2 separate regions of the Homo sapiens genome follow, and region 1 is linked to region 2. The links are contacts of gene promoters, found by promoter capture Hi-C in blood cells and fetal thymus (Javierre and others, 2016). All regions are on one chromosome and are shown on one strand. The core of a region is centred on a gene start or on the middle of the fragment in contact, and the rest is flanking DNA. Distances in the headings are between cores, read along the strand shown. Region 1 has its middle 7.1 kb from the start of SYNE3. Region 2 holds the start of VRK1 (VRK serine/threonine kinase 1).

Region 1 (5,465 bases), core at 766-3,265, 1.3 Mb after region 2:
GCCATAGGAGGTGGAGAAACATTCAGTGAGGCACCCACAGGCTCTGCGCTAAGCAGGATACAGAGTGGAGTAAGAGGCTGCCAAATCCCAAGGACCTCGCAGTCCTGTGATGGGGACAGATGCAAGAATGCCCCCGAGAACTGGAGAAGGGAATGGAGCTCTCGGAAAAAGCTCAGTCAGCGCCTAAGGGATAGGAAAAGCTTAGTAGGGGGTGACACTTGAACTGAGTTTTGAGAGAAGGGTAAAGTGCTTCTATATAAAAAGGAGGGACATTCCAGGAAGAGGGAGCAACCAGGGCAAAGGCACAGAGGCCCCTGGGTCCACTGGGAGAATGCCAGGCCGTTTCTTGAGAAATGCAGGACTGGACATAGCTGAGGGGAGGACAGATGGTAAGGGACTGGGCTCTCCTCCTCTGGATGAGGGAGAGTCCCAGGAGGAGTGTAAGCTGCAGAGTGCTTGAGAGATCACCCTTGCGGGAGTGTTGATGGATTGGAGGTGGCCGAGCTAACGGGGCCACTTAGGAGAGGGTCATCAGATTTAACCTTTGCAGGTATTGGGGTGGGGGCATGGGGGAAGGGCACTGCTGCAAGCTGAGTTCTTTGAAGGTAGGGATGACAGCATTTGGTGACTGGCTGACTGTGGGGAGGGGGCTGGGAGGAAGAGGGGAAGATTCAGGCTTATTCCTAGGGTTTTGCTTAGCCACTGACTGCACTTGATGATGCAGGGAATACAGCGGGAGGGGGAAGGAGGATTGGAAAGGTAAGTTCAGGAATTACTTTTGGACATTTCTGTTTCCAGGTGCCTGAGGAACATCTAAATCATCAGGTTATGTCTGAAATAAAGGGAGAGAGTATGCAGATTATTGCCTCTACGGGTCTGGATCTATTGATAAAGGAGATTTGGGCGGGTGGGGGGGCAAGAAGGAGTGCAGAGAAGAAAACCTGGGGAACGCATATCGCTGGGGAGGGACAGGCCATGAGGAGAACTAGGAGCAAGTGCTTTAGGGAAGAGGAATTTACCAGAAGCCACAGAGGGCCTGAGCATGAGGGCTCACACCTGTAGTCCCAGAGCTTTGGGAGGCCGAGGCAGGAGGATTGCTTGAGGCCACATGCTCTAGACTAGTCTGGGCAACATAGTGAGGCCCCATCTCTAGAAAAAGTTTTAAGTTAGTTGGGAGCAGTGGTGTGTGCCTATAGTCCTAGCTACTTGGGAGGCTGAGGTGGAAAGATAACTTTAGCCAAGGAGTTCTAGCCTGCAGTGAACTATGATAGTACCACTGCACTCCAGCCTGGGCAACAGAGCAAGGCTGTCTCTTAAAAAAAAAAAGGAAGCCACAGAGAGAGGCCAGGTAAGGACCCAGGGTCTCGTGGATTTTGCAATGGAGGTAAACACAGTGTGGGCTGATGCAATCAGTGTTTGCTGCCCTTGGGCGCTTCGCTTCACCTCTAAGGGGCTCTGCAACGTGATAGAGTTGGGCCAGTGAATTTGTCAGGTGTCTTCTGGCTGTTACTTTTGTCTGTGTGTGAACCTTTGTTTTAGGCCATTTCTGTAGTTAGTGAACAGAGCAGATAGAGTCCAGTCATTTTGCAGAAATGTTTCCATTTGGATGATGAAACAAGCTTGATTGCTGAAGCTGGTGCACTCATCCCATTGGCATGGTGCTAGCCGAGACCTTTGAAATACCTGAGGACACCTCTTGCCTGTTTATAGAGGTTGCTTCTGTCTGCTGAATAGGGCTTTGTAATTAACCAGGAGGTGCATTTAGCGACACTGGCCATTTTTCTCTGCATACCAAGTCTACAACATCAAAGAAGAAATTTAGGATGAAAGTTCTTTAAAATCTTAGGCCAGGTGCTGCAGCTATTGCCATTGCAAGGACCTGCGGCAGTCCTGTTGGAAAATGTTTGTTCTGCATGTGTTCCATGCCAGTTGTTGGCAATAAGATTCTAAGGTTTTGGAACTAGACTACTGCAATGAAACAACTTTCTCTGTTAGGGAAGTGTCCTGGGCTGTCAAGAATTATCATCAAGAGCAGCAGGTTTTATAAGATACATGGACCTATTTGGCATTTACCAGCCCATGCCGCTAGGATAGAGGGACAGGGCTGGGCCCCAAGTGTGGGCTTCCCGGAAGAGCCAAGCACCGGCTGCTCATATGGGATGGGTGGGGGTGGTGCAGGTGCCCTGCATGGGTTCCACTGCCCTAAAGAGGGTACAAAGGCCACACCTCCGTGTGTCTGCCAGGGCTGGGTTCAGAGCCTCCCTGGCTTCCTGGGCACTCTGCCTATCACACAGCGATTCCAATATGATCACATGTTCAGAACAGCCACACTTGTCAAAGCAAGGAGAGAACACTTCAGCAACGTTCAAAAACATGTCTCCAGGGATTAAAAAAAAAACACGGAAAGCTTCATTTTCCTCCCTAGTGGGGAAGTCTTCCTTACTCACAGCCTCTTCCTGAGTTGGTGTCTGTCGTGAAGCATTCTTTGGAAGCATAGTAAGCGGAGGGTTTAATTTACCATAGTCGTACACATTTGCACAGAATCTAAAGTTTGCAGTGCGTTTCATCATCTTTATGTGAATCTCATGCAGCTCTTACAGGGAAAACAGGAAGAACTGGCCCCATTTTCTAAATGTGGAGACAGGAGGAGGTGAGATGGCTCGCCTCTGCCCAGCCGACTGGGAAATGCAGAGCTCAGAGAGACAGCAAGTCAGGAGATGTTGATCCAGGGAGCTTTTCACTCTGCCACCCACCCCATCGATGGAAGCACCGACATTATCAAGGCTGCATTTAGATTTCAAAACAAAAGCAAGCAAACATGCCGGGCTCGTGGTATGCTGTTGTTTTAACCGAAATGATACAGCTGAAAGGGTGAGCAGCCATCAGTGCTGTGAGCGAAGCGTGATCACACATCTTGTATGTTTAGCAACTCAGGAGGTAGCTGAGCCTGGAAGTGACTTTCCTGGTATGTAGCAATTCAGAGAATACAAAACCACATTCATTATCTGAAATGGGCTCAGCTGCTTCTGTGTTTTATCATATAGAGCTGGGAACTTTGATGTGTGTGGTGTGTGCGTGTTTTGCTGCATATACAGATAATCACACAACTGGAGGCTTCAGCCTTGCTGTTTACACACACACACACACACACACCCCAGCAGATACATCACACACAGACTTCTCACCTGTTACGTTACTAACAGTGGTGCTGGTTTGTTTGAACAGTGTTTGAACTTATCAATAACCTTCCTCCAGAAGGCTCAGCATAGCTATAGCATATGCTGTGTGTGGAAAATATAACCTAAGAAACAGAATGGAATTGAATCATGACCACTATTGCTATGAGACAGAATCCACAGCGATGGAGTGGGTGCTGGGGTCAGACTGCCTGAGTGTGTACCCTAGGTGAGTCACATAATAGCTGGGTGAATGGCCAAGTTTTCACCTTTTTTCCCTCATTTGGAAAATGGGATGATAATAGGAGCTATCCTGAAGGGTGATGATGAGGGTTAAATTAACAATATAGGTAAAGGCTTAGAACAGTGTGTGGCAGATGGTAGGTAAGCCCTTAATAAATATAAAATATCATTATTTGTGTCCATCATTTGAGATATATCTCACATCTTATCCAGAGGACTCCCCAAACACTCGTGTTGTCACTTCTCTTTCCTGTCTCTGGGTTCCTCTACAAGTCAGTTTTGTACCATGCAGTCTCGCATTTGATGACATGCAGCATTACTTAGTTCTGTGAATGATTCGTGTGTCTTAATGTCACTTCCCCAACAGACTGTAAATTTCTTGATGGCAAGAACCATGTAACTGGTTTTTGTTAGATTTCTGCAACTCAAGACCCAATCCTGGGCAACTGTTGGACACTTAAACATCCTTCATCACTAGCTGCGTTCATCACTAGGAAAAAGTAAGAGAAATCTGATGGTATGGGATTGTAAGTGGGTATTAGATCCAACAGCTGAAACTTAAGATGTGAAGATGTATATTGACACACATGTGCGTACAAAATGTTTATAGCAGCTTTATTGATAATAGCCAAAAACCAGGAACAACCCGGATGTCCTTCAACAAGGGAAGGGTGACCCAGCCCGTGATGCATCCGTCACACTGTGGATTGCTGCTCAGCAACGAGGAGGCACAGACTCGATACGGGAGCCAGCCTGGGTGACGCTCCAGAGAACTACCCTGAGTGGAGAAGGGCAGTCCCACCGTGTGATTCCATTATTATCACATTCTTGAAATGACAGAATTATAGAAAGGAGAACAGAGGAGTGGCTGCCAGAGTTTAAGGAGGGAATGGGGAAAGGGGGAAGAGCAGCATGCGGGATCCTTGTGACGGAAGCGTTTTGTGTCGTGTGGGTGTCTGTCAGTTTCCTAGCTGTGATACTGTACCATTGTCTTGTAAGATGCTGCCATCGGTGGAAACTGGGTAAAGCATATAGGGGACCTCTCTGTATGATTTCTTACAACTGCATGTGAATTTACAGTGGTCTCAAAATAAAGCATTTAATTAAACAAAAAACCCACATGCATTTAAAGTAGTCCCAACAGAAGCAGAAAGAATAGACCAGGCTTCCCACTGTTGGGAGAAACGAGAAACATGGCAGACCTCTTCCAGAAGAATTTTGTATATTTTCTTTGTTTTCTGTTTTTGTTTTTTCTTTTCTTTTCTTTTTTTTTTTTGAGATGGAGTCTCACTTTGTCACCCAGGCTGGAGTGCCGTGGCCTGATCTCAGCTTACTGCAACCTCTGCCTCCTGGGTGCAAGCAATTCGTCTACCTCAGCCTCCTGAGTAGCTGGGATTACAGGCACCCACCACCATGCCCGACTAATTTTTTTTTGTATTTTTAGTAGAGATGGGGTTTCACCATGTTGGCCAGTCTGGTCTTGAACTCCTGACCTCAGGTGATCAACCCTCCTCGGCCTCCCAAAGTGCTGGGATTACAGGCATGAGCCACCGCACCCAGCCAGATTTTATTTTTTAGGAATAAAATTTATCAATTTTCCTTTAACACTTTTGTTTATCTTAGTATTTATTCCTTGGAGTATAATAGTAGTGGTGTTTAGTTATGTTAAATGATGATTGTTTAATACAAACAAGATCTTCTTTTTTCAAAAAGATATATAATGGAGAGAGAGAGAGACAGGGTCTCACTCTGTCACCCAGGCTGGAATGTAGTGGTGCAATCATGGCTCACTGCAGCCTTGACCTCCCAGGCCTAGGCAATCCTCCTGCCTCAGCTCCAAGTAGCTGAAACCAGGCATGCACCACCCTGCCTGGATAATTTTATTTATTTATCTGTAGAGACGGGGTCTCACCATGTTGCCCAGACTTGTCTTGAACTCCTGGGCTCAAGCGACCCTCCCACGCTGGCCTCCCAAAGTGCTGGGATTACAGGAGTGAGCCACTGTACCTGGCCAGCCAATACAATATATATATGTATGCGTGTGTG
Region 2 (5,229 bases), core at 769-3,268:
TTCTAGACATCTGGGACATTTCACTTATATATTTATTATTATTTCACATTAGTTCTCAAAGTTAAAAAAAAAAGCTGGCCTATTTCCTTTAAGAAATTTAATTTTAGGGTCTGTCAACATTTTGAATGCATTACTGTTATTTTTAAAATACACACTTGCATACTGGAATAAAACTTAGCATAAGCTTTCCATATAACCATTTCCTGGGCACTTACTAACTTACTATATGCCAGGCTCTATGCTTAACACATTACTCCATTATCTCATTTGTTTAACAAATATCCTCTCATAATTTTTGCAGCACTGAACATAACAAGAAGACATTGCACTATAAAACTGGTATTTGTACTGGATACCAGAACTAAATTGACAGTAACGCCTAACACAAGTTTATTGTTATTAAATTCAAGTTGTGTTACTGTATTAACACAGAATCTGATCAGCAATGTTGAGATGTAGAGAATACCATCTGTGGTAGCATCAACAGAGAAAGCTATTATTAAGTGACTACTTAAGTTACATTCCCTTCTATAGGTAACAGATGAACATAATCTTATCTACCCAGAAATTTAATTCCAATCACTACATGCCATTTTGAAGAACATAAACGTAACCTACATAAAATGACTATATAAAGAACCCTTGCTTCCTTCTGAAAATGCTTCAAAATTCTAGATTAAATTCTCCCCCAAAGTATCATGCTCAGCATGTCATAAAGAAAGGTGCCTTTATTGTCAACTCTTGAAAATAAATGCTGCCCTACTTTTTTTTACTCTTGAATTTCAGTCTCAACAGATGGGCAATTCCAGTTTAAAAAAAAAGAAGAAGAAAAGAAAAACACACACACAATAATTAATGAAGTTCTTCAACAGTTCCCTAAAACCAACATCCTCCCAATAGCAAATTGTATTTCCAAGTTGTTCCAAGAAAGGGACACAGGAAAGGGAAGGGAAGAGTCTATACAAAGGAAAACAAAAATGAGTGACTTGAAAGAAAGGACATCAGAAAAATGGGTGGCCTCAACAGGAACCTATAGTGTCTGACTCTGCTGCTGTCTGTCGAATTTAATTCTACCACCTAAGAGTTTTGAGACGAGAACCACAATACTATTTCGGTGGTAGGAAAAACTATGCGTTGCCCCTGAATGGAGCTGCAACAGTAAAGGATGCCACCCTGCCAGGTAAGGACAGAATGAGGAGGAACTGTCAAACGGTTATGAAAGTCCCTTGCAAAACACACAAGCGGCTCTAACTGCCTTGCACCAGACAGACCCTCAAGTACAGGATCACGGGGCCTCCCCGCGATGTGACAGGGAAATAACGGGCGGCCTCGCGGTCCCCAGGCCTGGCTGCTATCCTCAGGGGTCGGCCTCCCCTCTCAGGTCTCAAGTCAAAGGTCACATCCTCTGAGATGCCCTCCCGGATCACCTAACCTAAAGAGCCTCGCCCCCATTCCTCTAGCCCGCAACTGCCTGTCCCGTTTCTAAGAAAGCATTTCCGTATCCGCAAAACATCGCAGCTGCGTGTGTTGTTTCCCTTCTACAGAGTGAGCTCTGCGGGGCAGGGGCCTCGCCTGCGCTGTTCACCCGGAGCCCCGCCTGACAGAACCGGCTTCCCGGTGAGGCCCGAGGCGGCGTTTGCGAGCTCGGCCGCGACACCACGCGCGTCCAGAACGTGGAGCTCAGATGGGGGCCGGCCTGGCCAGTCCAGGCATCCCCGGGGGCGCCTGCGGGGCCTGAACGAGACAAGGAAGGAGCGGACGCCCGCGCAGGCGGAAGCCACGCGGCGGAGCGCGGTCCCGCGGGGCGACCGAGGCTGACGGCGACTCCCGCACCCCGGTGGACCCACAGGCCGCCCGGAAGGCCCAGTGCCGGCCCCAGCCCCGGCCGCCCGCCTCCGCGCCCCCGGCTCGGCGCGCGAGTCCTCGAGCCGTGTCGCCTGCGGCCTCCCTACCCTAAGCCGCAGACCCGTCGCGTTCTGCCCAGTACGAACTTCCCGCCGCTTTCGCCGACTCGTAACTCGGCAGCGGCGCCGGCCCCTTCGCACCCTGCAGTATGGAGCCTTCCCATTGGCTCGGAGGCGACGAGGAGGGGCGGGACGAGTGGTAACGCGAGGCGCGGGGCGGAGGCTACGCTAGCCCCGCGCCTCCCCGGGAATGCCGGGAGCTGTGGTCCAGCGCTCCCAAGGCATCCTGGGAGTTGGAGTCTCTTAGCGGCAAAGGGAGATCCCCGTCCTTCTGCTCCCTGGTCTTCTAGGAAATGTGGTTTACAGCCTTGTTCGTAGTAGCTTGATTTATTAAGTGTATTGGCAGAGAGTTGGGTGTAAAATAAGTTTCCTGTTTCTGTTAGGATTAAATGAAATAATCTATAGGCAGTACTTTAAACTTAGTTGGTGCTCAATAAATAGCAGATAGTGTTAGTATTATTCTGCCCACTCATTGATATGTGTCTAAATCCTACCTGTTTTTCGAAGCCTATTTCAAAGCATATCTCAATGTCTACCTAATCATCTATAGTGTTTCATCTGTAATCAACGTATGCCACAGTTTGCATTGTGTTTATTATTTATTTTTATTTATTTATTTTTTTGAGACGGAGTCTCACTCTGTCGCCCAGGCTGGAGTACAGTGGCACAGTCTCGGCTCACTGCAAGCTCCGTCTCCCGGGTTCACGCCATTCTCCTGCCTCAGCCTCCCGAGTAGCTGGGACTACAGGCGCTCGCCATCACGCCCAGCTAATTTTTTTCTGTTTTTAGTAGAGACGGGGTTTCACCGTGTTAGCCAGGATGGTCTCGATCTCCTGACCTTGTGATCCGCCCGCCTTGGCCTCGCCAAGTGCTGGGATTACAGGCGTGAGCCACCGCGCCCGGCCGCATTGTGTTTATTATAATCAGCTAAGTCTCCATCACCCATGAGGCTGAGAGCTTATTGGGCACTGGGTCATTGTTCTAGGTCAAAATCACTGAAGTCACAGGCAGAGGGAGATTAACAATGAAGCCAATGAAGCGTAAGCTTCAGGACCTCACTTGCGCAGGTCCCTCAATGAGTTTACATAGCTTTGGGGGTTTATTTGTCGATTTTACTTTTCTTTTTCTTTTTTTTAAAGATATAGTCTCACTTTGTCACCCAGGCTGCAATGCATTGGCGCGATCTCGGTTCACTGCAGCCACGACCTCCTGGGCTCAAGCAATCCTCCCACCTCAACCCTCCGAGTAGCTGGGATTACACGCACAGGCCACCACTTCTGGCTAATTTTTGTATTTTTTGTAGAGACAGGGTTTGACCATGTTGCCCAGGCTGGTCTTGAACTCCTGAGCTCAAACAATCCACCCCGCCTCAGCCTCCCAAAGTGCTAGAATTACAGGCATGAGCCACCACACCCAGCTGATTTTTCTTAAAGTAGATCCCCCAAAATTATGTGAGCTTCAGTCCCTACAAAACCTGGAATCACTCTGTCCATTAGACAGGGCAATATTGTGCCTGATGTCTTACATTTTCCCCTCCAGATACCCTCATCTGCTCCAAATACTTCTCCTGCCTGCCCTCTGCCCCAGGAGGCTGACCTCTACAAATTACTTCGCGCTCCCTGTGCCCCCTGGCTTTGGGGCGTGCCCAGTGGAGAACCCCACAGAAGATTGGAGGAAAAAGAAAGGTTGGTTAGAGTAGGTTAAGCCCCTGGATCCTGACTGGCAAGGTCACCTCCAGTTGGCAGGTCCCTCAGCTGAAGGTCACTGCTCCCTGGCCCTCCCTCCAGTTTGCGGTAGTAGCCCTTCCCTTTGTGCCTCAGGTCTGGAAGTGATGACATCACGGCTGCTGCTGACCCACAAGTTACTGCATCCTCCCTCGTGGTTCCTACCCCCAACACCGTTGTAAATAGTCTCATTGCAAATAACCTTCCTCAAATTACCCTATTTGGAATTATGTCATCTGCTTCCTGTTGAGACCCTAACAGAGCATGGGCAAGGTGAGCACTCGATAAAATCTGTCAGCAAAAAAGTCTCAAGATTCACACATCTCATGGGTGTGGAATCCCCCAGCAAGACTCTGTGGCCAGAATCCACTGAGAGAAAGACACACACACCCACACCCACACCCACACAAATACACACATATGTTAAGAAAACTTGGAACAGGACTTATCTGTCATAGTGTGACCATGTTCCCCTAACCTCACAATAGACACGTGAAGAAACATCCCTGTTTCCACACTGGGTTGACAATTGACTGACTTTAAAGCACAATTAAATCAGCAACAGTGTAAGGTAAGAATGGAATGTATTTATTCTGGAGCTCTTGGCCCTGGCACCCTTGATCTGATGGCTCACTGTTAAACACTCCTTACGTGCAGCCCTGTTCCAAGGCAGTTGCCGGCACCTACAACATCATCCACACATGCTGAGATGTCTTCCCAGTGCAGAGCATGGCAGGTCACCAGTCCAAGCTGCTGTCACAGAGACAACATGTCTGAAATGCTATAGATGGGGATACAACTCTCAAAGCTAGCAGACCCTTGGCACGTTTTTATGAGTTGATAGCTTGGTGTCAAGATCAGGGTCATACATAAGATTGACCAGCGAGGACTTGCTGTTGGTGGGCTTTAGAAATTAAGAATTGATGGCTCACGCCTGTAATCCCAGCACTTTGGGAGGCCGAGGCTGGCGGATCACGAGGTTAGGAGTTTGAGACCAGCTTGGCCAACATGGTGAAACCCTGTCTCTACTAAAGATACAAAAAATTAGCTGGGTGTGGTGGCAGGCACCTGTAATCCCAGCTACTCAGGAGGCTGAGGTGGGAGAGTCGCTCGAACCCGGCAGGCGGAGGTTGCAGTGAGCCGAGATCGCGCCACTGCACTCCAGCCTGGCGACAGAGTGAGACTCCGTCTCAAACAAAAAAAAAAAAAGAAGAAGAAGAAGAAGAAGAAGAAGAAATTAAGAATTGTACTAGGCAGGAAAGGTTCATAAAAGTAATCCTGCCATATATTCAAAATATCTATACGGTCCAAACAAATGTTTACAGAGCACTTACTGTGAGCCAGGGATTGAGCCAAATTCCAGGGACCCTGGTTTAATGCTTAAGGAGGCCCTACTATTTGTCAGGCACTGTGATTTTTCACACATATTGTTTCCCCAATTCTTAGAGGGGAAAAAAATCTCAAAGAATTTGGACAATGATTCTTGGTCCCCTGAATCTACTTCCAAATGTTCTTTTTACTGCCCCTTTATGCCCAGCCTC

What was found. The method cuts DNA at HindIII sites, captures the fragments that hold promoters and counts their contacts. A CHiCAGO score of 5 or more calls a contact.
Region 1: a fragment that was not itself captured here is called in contact with the fragment with the promoter of VRK1 in region 2 in 1 of 17 cell types (erythroblasts); the score reaches 5.5 in erythroblasts.

What each region holds. Positions count from the first base shown.
Region 1 is chr14:95,521,006-95,526,470 of GRCh38, reverse strand. No RefSeq gene overlaps it. Among named protein-coding and RNA genes, the nearest start is that of SYNE3, 7.1 kb to the right of the region's middle. RefSeq lists a cis regulatory region at 1,960-2,362 and an enhancer at 2,385-2,679. The HindIII fragment of the contact is 788 bases long and covers 1,622-2,409 here.
Region 2 is chr14:96,794,171-96,799,399 of GRCh38, reverse strand. It overlaps VRK1 (VRK serine/threonine kinase 1), which reads right to left and starts at 2,018. Exons shown (of 13, transcript NM_003384.3): 1 at 1,953-2,018. RefSeq lists an enhancer at 1,161-1,692 and silencers at 1,637-1,926, 1,937-2,136. The HindIII fragment of the contact is 2,825 bases long and covers 187-3,011 here.